2 separate regions of the Homo sapiens genome follow, and region 2 is linked to region 1. Evidence: promoter capture Hi-C in 16 types of primary human blood cells and fetal thymus (Javierre and others, 2016). All regions are on one chromosome and are shown on one strand. Each heading gives the region's core, a stretch centred on a gene start or on the middle of the fragment in contact. The rest is flanking DNA. Distances are from core to core; before and after follow the strand shown. Region 1 holds the start of PTGS2 (prostaglandin-endoperoxide synthase 2). Region 2 has its middle 58 kb from the start of PTGS2.

The links. Contacts are between HindIII fragments. The CHiCAGO score rates a contact against its expected background, and 5 or more counts as called.
Region 2: a contact is called between a fragment that was not itself captured here and the fragment with the promoter of PTGS2 in region 1, in 2 of 17 cell types (neutrophils and monocytes). The highest score is 6.5, in neutrophils.

Annotation. Positions count from the first base shown.
Region 1 is chr1:186,677,777-186,682,340 of GRCh38, reverse strand. It overlaps PTGS2 (prostaglandin-endoperoxide synthase 2), which reads left to right and starts at 1,918. Exons shown (of 10, transcript NM_000963.4): 1 at 1,918-2,102; 2 at 2,903-3,019; 3 at 3,140-3,283; 4 at 3,937-4,080; 5 at 4,511-4,564. The coding sequence starts at 2,051. It overlaps PACERR (PTGS2 antisense NFKB1 complex-mediated expression regulator RNA), which reads right to left and starts at 1,687. Exons shown (of 1, transcript NR_125801.1): 1 at 895-1,687. RefSeq lists an enhancer at 3,568-4,564. The HindIII fragment of the contact is 7,534 bases long and covers 1-2,673 here.
Region 2 is chr1:186,620,510-186,625,227 of GRCh38, reverse strand. No RefSeq gene overlaps it. Among named protein-coding and RNA genes, the nearest start is that of PTGS2, 58 kb to the left of the region's middle. The HindIII fragment of the contact is 9,391 bases long and covers 1-4,718 here.

The sequences.
Region 1 (4,564 bases), core at 669-3,168:
ATCCAAATCTCTTTTCAGACAACAGAACAATTAATGTCTGATAAGGAAGACAATGATGATGATCACTTCAAAATGAATTCAGGATTGTAATGTAAAATTTTAGTACTCTCTCACAGTATGGATTCTAACATGGCTTCTAACCCAAACTAACATTAGTAGCTCTAACTATAAACTTCAAATTTCAGTAGATGCAACCTACTCCTTTAAAATGAAACAGAAGATTGAAATTATTAAATTATCAAAAAGAAAATGATCCACGCTCTTAGTTGAAATTTCATGTAAGATTCCATGCAATAAATAGGAGTGCCATAAATGGAATGATGAAATATGACTAGAGGAGGAGAAAGGCTTCCTAGATGAGATGGAATTTTAGTCATCCGTGTCTCATGAAGAATCAGATGTGTACACTAAGCAAAACAGTTAAAAAAAAAACCTCCAAGTGAGTCTCTTATTTATTTTTTTCTTATAAGACTTCTACAAATTGAGGTACCTGGTGTAGTTTTATTTCAGGTTTTATGCTGTCATTTTCCTGTAATGCTAAGGACTTAGGACATAACTGAATTTTCTATTTTCCACTTCTTTTCTGGTGTGTGTGTATATATATATGTATATATACACACACACATATACATATATATATTTTTTAGTATCTCACCCTCACATGCTCCTCCCTGAGCACTACCCATGATAGATGTTAAACAAAAGCAAAGATGAAATTCCAACTGTCAAAATCTCCCTTCCATCTAATTAATTCCTCATCCAACTATGTTCCAAAACGAGAATAGAAAATTAGCCCCAATAAGCCCAGGCAACTGAAAAGTAAATGCTATGTTGTACTTTGATCCATGGTCACAACTCATAATCTTGGAAAAGTGGACAGAAAAGACAAAAGAGTGAACTTTAAAACTCGAATTTATTTTACCAGTATCTCCTATGAAGGGCTAGTAACCAAAATAATCCACGCATCAGGGAGAGAAATGCCTTAAGGCATACGTTTTGGACATTTAGCGTCCCTGCAAATTCTGGCCATCGCCGCTTCCTTTGTCCATCAGAAGGCAGGAAACTTTATATTGGTGACCCGTGGAGCTCACATTAACTATTTACAGGGTAACTGCTTAGGACCAGTATTATGAGGAGAATTTACCTTTCCCGCCTCTCTTTCCAAGAAACAAGGAGGGGGTGAAGGTACGGAGAACAGTATTTCTTCTGTTGAAAGCAACTTAGCTACAAAGATAAATTACAGCTATGTACACTGAAGGTAGCTATTTCATTCCACAAAATAAGAGTTTTTTAAAAAGCTATGTATGTATGTGCTGCATATAGAGCAGATATACAGCCTATTAAGCGTCGTCACTAAAACATAAAACATGTCAGCCTTTCTTAACCTTACTCGCCCCAGTCTGTCCCGACGTGACTTCCTCGACCCTCTAAAGACGTACAGACCAGACACGGCGGCGGCGGCGGGAGAGGGGATTCCCTGCGCCCCCGGACCTCAGGGCCGCTCAGATTCCTGGAGAGGAAGCCAAGTGTCCTTCTGCCCTCCCCCGGTATCCCATCCAAGGCGATCAGTCCAGAACTGGCTCTCGGAAGCGCTCGGGCAAAGACTGCGAAGAAGAAAAGACATCTGGCGGAAACCTGTGCGCCTGGGGCGGTGGAACTCGGGGAGGAGAGGGAGGGATCAGACAGGAGAGTGGGGACTACCCCCTCTGCTCCCAAATTGGGGCAGCTTCCTGGGTTTCCGATTTTCTCATTTCCGTGGGTAAAAAACCCTGCCCCCACCGGGCTTACGCAATTTTTTTAAGGGGAGAGGAGGGAAAAATTTGTGGGGGGTACGAAAAGGCGGAAAGAAACAGTCATTTCGTCACATGGGCTTGGTTTTCAGTCTTATAAAAAGGAAGGTTCTCTCGGTTAGCGACCAATTGTCATACGACTTGCAGTGAGCGTCAGGAGCACGTCCAGGAACTCCTCAGCAGCGCCTCCTTCAGCTCCACAGCCAGACGCCCTCAGACAGCAAAGCCTACCCCCGCGCCGCGCCCTGCCCGCCGCTGCGATGCTCGCCCGCGCCCTGCTGCTGTGCGCGGTCCTGGCGCTCAGCCATACAGGTGAGTACCTGGCGCCGCGCACCGGGGACTCCGGTTCCACGCACCCGGGCAGAGTTTCCGCTCTGACCTCCTGGGTCTATCCCAGTACTCCGACTTCTCTCCGAATAGAGAAGCTACGTGACTTGGGAAAGAGCTTGGACCGCTAGAGTTCGAAAGAACTCCGTGGATATTCCAGCTTTCCCACAAGCACTGATCATTATGAGCCAGTTACTTAACCGATCTGAGACACTCTCACCTCCTAAATAGGGATAGATGATACTAATTTGCAGGTTGTCATTATGATAAGACAGGATCTGATCAATATATGTGAATTGTTTATATTTGGAACCTTTTTATTGAGTGGAAGAAGTTGTTTTAAATATTCTAGTCAGTTCTTTCCTGCTCCCAGGAAAGCCCGGATTATGTTTTAAGATAAGCAAAATGTCTTAAAAGTAAGCTGTTTTACTTTGAATTTTTCCCTAAATGTTGATTAGTGTACTAGATCCATTTTAATTTGGAAAGTGAAGTGCTACTTATTTGAACTTCTTAAAAATGCTAATTTTAACATCTAAAGAGTTAACTAAGAAAAGCTTAGTAACATGATGTACCAAGTTGAATATGCTGTTATCCTTATTTAGAATAGAAAATTGGTATTTCTACGTTTTATCCATTCTAAGGCAGGTTAAAAAATTGTATTTCCATGACTACCTATATATTTCTTGAATTTATTATTGTAAAGTTGATTCATAGTCAAACAATTAAATGTTTAAATTAAGATTAAGACACTAGAGAATGATTTATTTGCTGTCCTTTAATTGCAGCAAATCCTTGCTGTTCCCACCCATGTCAAAACCGAGGTGTATGTATGAGTGTGGGATTTGACCAGTATAAGTGCGATTGTACCCGGACAGGATTCTATGGAGAAAACTGCTCAACACGTAAGTTTGTCCTTTGGTTGCCTCATTAGGAGTGGGGCTGGATACAGTTATCATTGTATAGATTTGTGTCTTATAATGAGTCCCATTAATTTCTCCCTCCCTTTCTTCGTCTTCTTGCAGCGGAATTTTTGACAAGAATAAAATTATTTCTGAAACCCACTCCAAACACAGTGCACTACATACTTACCCACTTCAAGGGATTTTGGAACGTTGTGAATAACATTCCCTTCCTTCGAAATGCAATTATGAGTTATGTGTTGACATGTAAGTACAAGTGTCTTTCTAAGGTTTTTAGCCTTCTCAAAGAAAAATATGCTTTATAATACTGTAAGCCTAATCTAAAAACATATTTCCAAGCTTATCAAAAAGACTTTAAGATAGCTTTTAAGTTTGCCTTCCATCTTAATCGCCAAAAATATTGACATTTAGTCCCATCCAGTTTATACAGTCTGCTCACAACTCTGTATACCTCTTCTAACCTTTACTGTTTGGTCAGTTTGTGGAGGTAGCATGGTCCAGCTGTTTATTGAATGCCCATGGGCCACAGAATTGTTCTGAACATGTAGCACCCATTAAAATAAATTTGGATTTGGATCAGCAAGAAAATAACTTTCCATGATTCTAAAGTGGGTGCCATACTCAGCCATTCCTTTCATAGGCCTCTTGGATAGTGAGCAGATGGCTACCTGAAAAATCAATATTGCCAGATTATAATGTGCAGAGTATATGTATTTTATTAAAGATGTATTTCAAGTGGCCATTAGACTATAAAGTGTAGTTGTTTAAAAATAGATTTTTTTTATTTTGGAGTTACATTCAACCTCAGGTGCCACTTTCCACATTTTACAATAAAAATAATGGTTGATTTACTTAACAAATGAGAATAAATAAAACATTTTTTTCTTTGAAAATTTCAGCCAGATCACATTTGATTGACAGTCCACCAACTTACAATGCTGACTATGGCTACAAAAGCTGGGAAGCCTTCTCTAACCTCTCCTATTATACTAGAGCCCTTCCTCCTGTGCCTGATGATTGCCCGACTCCCTTGGGTGTCAAAGGTGAGTAAGAAGAATCCATTAGAGATGTATTAACTATAAGACGGGCTGCATTGCTGCCAAAAAAAAAAATTGACCTTAGACTACCATTTATTTATTAACAAAAGCAGTTTTTACTTTTAGCATGGTTATCTATGGGTATTTTTTAAAGTATGAGTCTATATAAACTATTATGTAAAAGCAAATGAGCGTCTTGGTATAATGTCTTAATATTTTCAAATTATTTCTTTAGAAATGAAATAATTCTAATTAAAATAGATAAAATCATTCAGTAAGAAGTTGTTCCACCATATCTTAGAACTGTTGTTTATATTATGATCCTATTCACAATTGTAATTCTCATATAAATGAAGAATTCTTGGTAGATTGACAGTCACCATCTCCTTTCTTGAATACATAGATGGATTCTTACCTTAGCTTTCTCATTTTTCAGGTAAAAAGCAGCTTCCTGATTCAAATGAGATTGTGGAAAAATTGCTTCTAAGAA
Region 2 (4,718 bases), core at 203-2,702, 57 kb after region 1:
CGGAGGCTAAGGCAGGAGAAAGACGTGAACCCGGGAGGTGGAGCTTGCAGTGAGCCGAGATCCCACCACTGCACTCCAGCCTGGGCGACAGAGCGAGACTCCGTCTCAAAAAATAAATAAATAAATAAAAAATAAAGAAGTGAGACTCCGTCTCAAAAACAAACAATCAAAAAAAAATCCAATTTCTGTCCTTTTCAGTTCTCCAACACCCTGAAAATCCCAGATGGTTATCACTTTCCTCCTACCCAGGATGACTCTTTTTCTCAAAAGTATTACTCTGTTCCCCAGATCTCCCTGATCACATCTCTCATTTCTGCACCTAAAACTTCCACGTCTTGCTAATAATATGTCGCATGTTCAGATATTGCCAAGCCCCTGAAGAGTTTAGCTTATCTTCCTTTTTTACTCCTTTTCCTAAATAATAATTGTTTAAAAATAGTCTGTGACATTTATTCTTGCTACTTTTTCCCAGATTCCAGGATTCTGCATAACACTCTTCAGAATCACAGTGGGTGTGACAGAACCTCCTTCTGTATAGATGAAGTGGGCACAGCCTAAGAACAGTCATATATTAATAATTCTTGTCGGCCGGGCGTGTTGGCTCACGCCTGTAATTCCAGCACTTTCGGAGGCCGAGGCGGGCGGATCACAAGGTCAGGAGATCGAGACCATCCTGTGAATGGTGAAACCGTGTCTCTACTAAAAAAAAAATACAAAAAATTAGCCGGGCGTGGTCGCGGACGCCTTGTAGTCCCAGCTACTCGGGAGGCTGAGGCGGGAGAATGGCGTGAACCCAGGAGGCGGAGCTTGCAATGAGCTGAGATTGCGCCACTGCACTCCAGCCTGGGCGACAGAGCGAGACTCCGTCTCAAAAAAAAAAAAAAAAAAAAAACTACTACTACTACTACTAATAATAATTCTTGTCCAGTCACCCATAAATTACAGTAATAATTAAAATATCAACATTTAAATATTTTAGCTGCAAAATAAGTATGAAAATCAATATATCCATGACAACCTAAATAATGATCATGTCGAAATGTCACTACTCCAGTGAAGAGGCCAAAAGTAAAAATCCATTTAAAAGCTGGAATAAATTTATTTCTTTATGCCACATAATAATGGACGCTTAACACTTAAGAAGACTCAAAACTTCTGACACAGAGAGGGCTGTAAAAATGTTTATTCTCGTCATAAAGGTATTACCTTGTGCCCCAAATTTGCTAATGTGCTCAATCTTAAATACAAGTCTAAATGTCATATTCTTTTTAGGTACTTTGTAATAGCAATACTTCAAATCCATCACCAAATTCTATACTAATCGGCTTTGCTGAGGTGATAAAACAACTCAAACCAAGTGGCTTACAACAACAAACATTAAATTTTCCTCATGGTCCATGTCAGGACCAGTAGGTCATCTGCAAGGGCTCTGTTCCTCATCTTCCTCTCATAGGACCCAGGATTACAGTGCGGTCCCTATTGGGGCATGCATCCTCCTGGCAGGAAGTTGGTGGATACACGCAATGATTCATAAACCTTCTTCTTCTTTTTTTTTTTTTTTTGAGATGGAGTTTTGTTCTTGTCGCCCAGGCTGGAGTGCAATGGCACAATCTCAGCTTACTGCAACCTCCGCCTCCTGGGTTCCAGCGATTTCTCCTGCCTCAGCCTCCTGAGTAGCTGAGACTACAGGCACCCACCAACACGCCTGGCTAATTGTAGAGACAGGGTTTCACCATGATGGCCAGGCTGGTCTCAAACTCCTGACCTCAGGTGATCTGCCTGCCTCAGCTTCCCAAAGTGCTGGGATTATAGATATGAGCCACTGTGCTTGGCATATCACCTTGTCTTAGTCTATTTGTGCTGTGCAACAAAATACCCAAGACTGGTATAAACAATAGAAATTAATTTTCTTGCAGATCTGGATTCTAGGACATAATTCTCTCCTGCATCTTCTCTGGCCTCCCCTTCTGTGTGCTTCCCATGCTCTCCTTCCTTTTCACCTTGGAAAGTGCTGTGGCCCAACTGAGTGCTGTCCTTGGCCACTATCGTCTTCCTGCTGTTTGTGGTCAGCCTGTATTCTCTCGCCCACGACTTCAATTGTTTACTGAGTGAAGATAATTCTGCAGTGTGATTCTAACCTAGATCTTGCTCCTCACCTTCGAACTTGTGAGTCCCTATTAGACATTTTCTAAAATATTCCATGTTTCCTTGCACCTCCAGAACTTTACAATCCTGTTCTTTCAGTCCAAAAGATCCTTCACCTTCTACAGTCTAATCCTTATTCAGACTGTAATATTTAACGCAAGTAGGCCAGGCGCGGTGGCTCACGCCTGTAATCCCAGCACTTTGAGAGTCCCAGGCGGGCGGATCACGAGGTCGGGATATCGAGCCCATCCTGGCTAACATGGTGAAACCCCATCTCTACTAAAAACATAAAAAAATTAGCCGGGCGTGGTGGCGGGCGCCTGTAGTCCCAGCTACTTGGGAGGCTGAGGCAGGAGAATGGCGTGAACCCAGCAGGCGGAGCTTGCAGTGAGCCAAGATCACTCCACTGCACTCCAGCCTGGGCGACAGAGTGAGACTCCGTCTCAAAAAAGGTAAATAAATATCCAAGTATTCCCTCTCTGGAAAGCTCTCTCCAACATCCTATTGTGAGCTGGCAACCTCTTCTGTAGAGTCCTGTGCATGGCCCCATTATGGCACCCATTGCCCTGTACTGTCATTGTTAGATTGTTTGCTTCTCACCTGTATTAGAAACTCAGCTCCTTTAACAAAAATACAGTGATTTGTCTTTGTATATATAGCAACAGTTCTATGTCTAGCATATAGCAGATACCGAATAATGTTTTTAAATGATAGATTGAATAAAGAATAAGTATATTTGTGAGAGATAGGTGGGATTCTTTTGAGTCAGGAGATAAGTTTGGAAACAGAAAAGGATGAGTTATGGTATGTCTTTTTTTCCTCCAAAAAGTTCAAGGCAACAGTGTCTGCAACAAAAGAAGTTGGGAATGGGAAGTACAAGAACATCAGGTATTCAATGTCTCCAAAACTTGCTATGTAAAAAGCCAAATAAGAATGAATAACAGAAATATTTTTCAACATAATGTAGGATATCTTATGAGAATTTTTTATTGTAAAATTTCATTTTCATAATCATCCAAAAATAATTCTATTCTGCATTCTATGAGTGACTTTGTTATAACCAAATATCCCACAGGATTTCATTGCCCATGTTTTCATTTTTGTCTGTAATCATGTTGCTGCCAAGTGGAACTATTTTAGTTATGCTGGGCATATCAGTCAGAGAGTTCAATCAGGGAATAAGGACTATTAGGGATCTCTCTCTCTCTCTCTCTAAAAGGATTTGTTACAGGTGTTTGACCTTACACAATTATGGGAGCTAGTTAAGAATCAGCATCTGATGCCGGATCTTAATATCTGCGAGGCAGGAATGGGAGCAGTGGCACATGCCTATAATCCCAGTGCTTTGGGAGGCCAAGGCGAGAGGATCACTTGAGCCTAGGAGTTCAAGAACAGCCTGGGAAACATAGTGAGACCTTTGTCTCTACAAAAAATCCAAAAATTTGCCAGGCTTAGTGTCATGCACCTGTAGTGCTAACTACTTGAGAGGCTGAGGTGGGAGGATCACTTGAGCCCAGGAGTTCGAGGTTGCAGTGAGTTATGATAGTGCCGCTGCCTGGGTGACAGAGTGAGACCCTATCTCAAAAAAAAAAAAAAAAAAAAATCCGTGAGGCTGACAGTGAAGAAGGGAAGATGCCTGTAAAGTCAGGAGATTAAGAATAGGCAGGAACCCACAAGCACAAGCTGGAACCTGTGAGGATGGACTAAAACTTGTGTTAGTTCTTGTTGTCTCTGCCCTTAGTGGTGTGGGTGTCCTGGAGAAGTCAGGGTGCTTCACCATGGAGCTAAACAAACACACCTATCCTGGGAGTCAGAGAATCTGTGAGAATCTCTAAGAAGATCCAGGGGAAAGTAGAAGAGTAGTAGGCCCAGCCACTGACTCACACAAATTGCGTGAGCCAGGACATAAATGACAATGCATGTGAGCTACAAAATAATTGCTTTTTCACTTATGCCCTCCAAGTTTTGCACAAGAATGTTTCTTGTGGTTTACTCTAACCAGAAACACACAGGAAAGATAACTTGGCCTAGCCAACACATTGCAGAGCCACCACACAGGCTTATGAATAGTCAACTATAAATAATGTGTTATATACCAGATGACATCACAGCCTGCTGTACAAGTAATAATAATTACTATTTATTGAAATTTTTATGTAGGTTCTATTCTTTAGGCATTAACCCATTGAATTATCACAACCCATTGCTGCAGGTACTATTATTGTTACCCTTTTCCAGAAATGGAAACTGAATCCCAAAGTGATTAGGTAACTTGCCTAAAGTCACAGAGTCAGTAATTAATAACAGAAGCAGGATTCACACCACTAGGCGATCTTGCTGTAGAGCCTCTGCCCTTACCCACTAGACTCTGCCAGCACCCTGTGTGACAATGTGAGAAAAGCTGTAGCCAAATGGAGTCAATAAATGCCACATTGCAGCTGATGTTGGCCAACTGCAAAGGAACCTAGGCATGTGGAGAAAAATCCTTGTGAGTTGTCACTGGGAATGTAGACTGGTATAGCCATTACGGAAAACAAGATGGAGGCTTCTCAAAAAATTAAATATAGAACTAT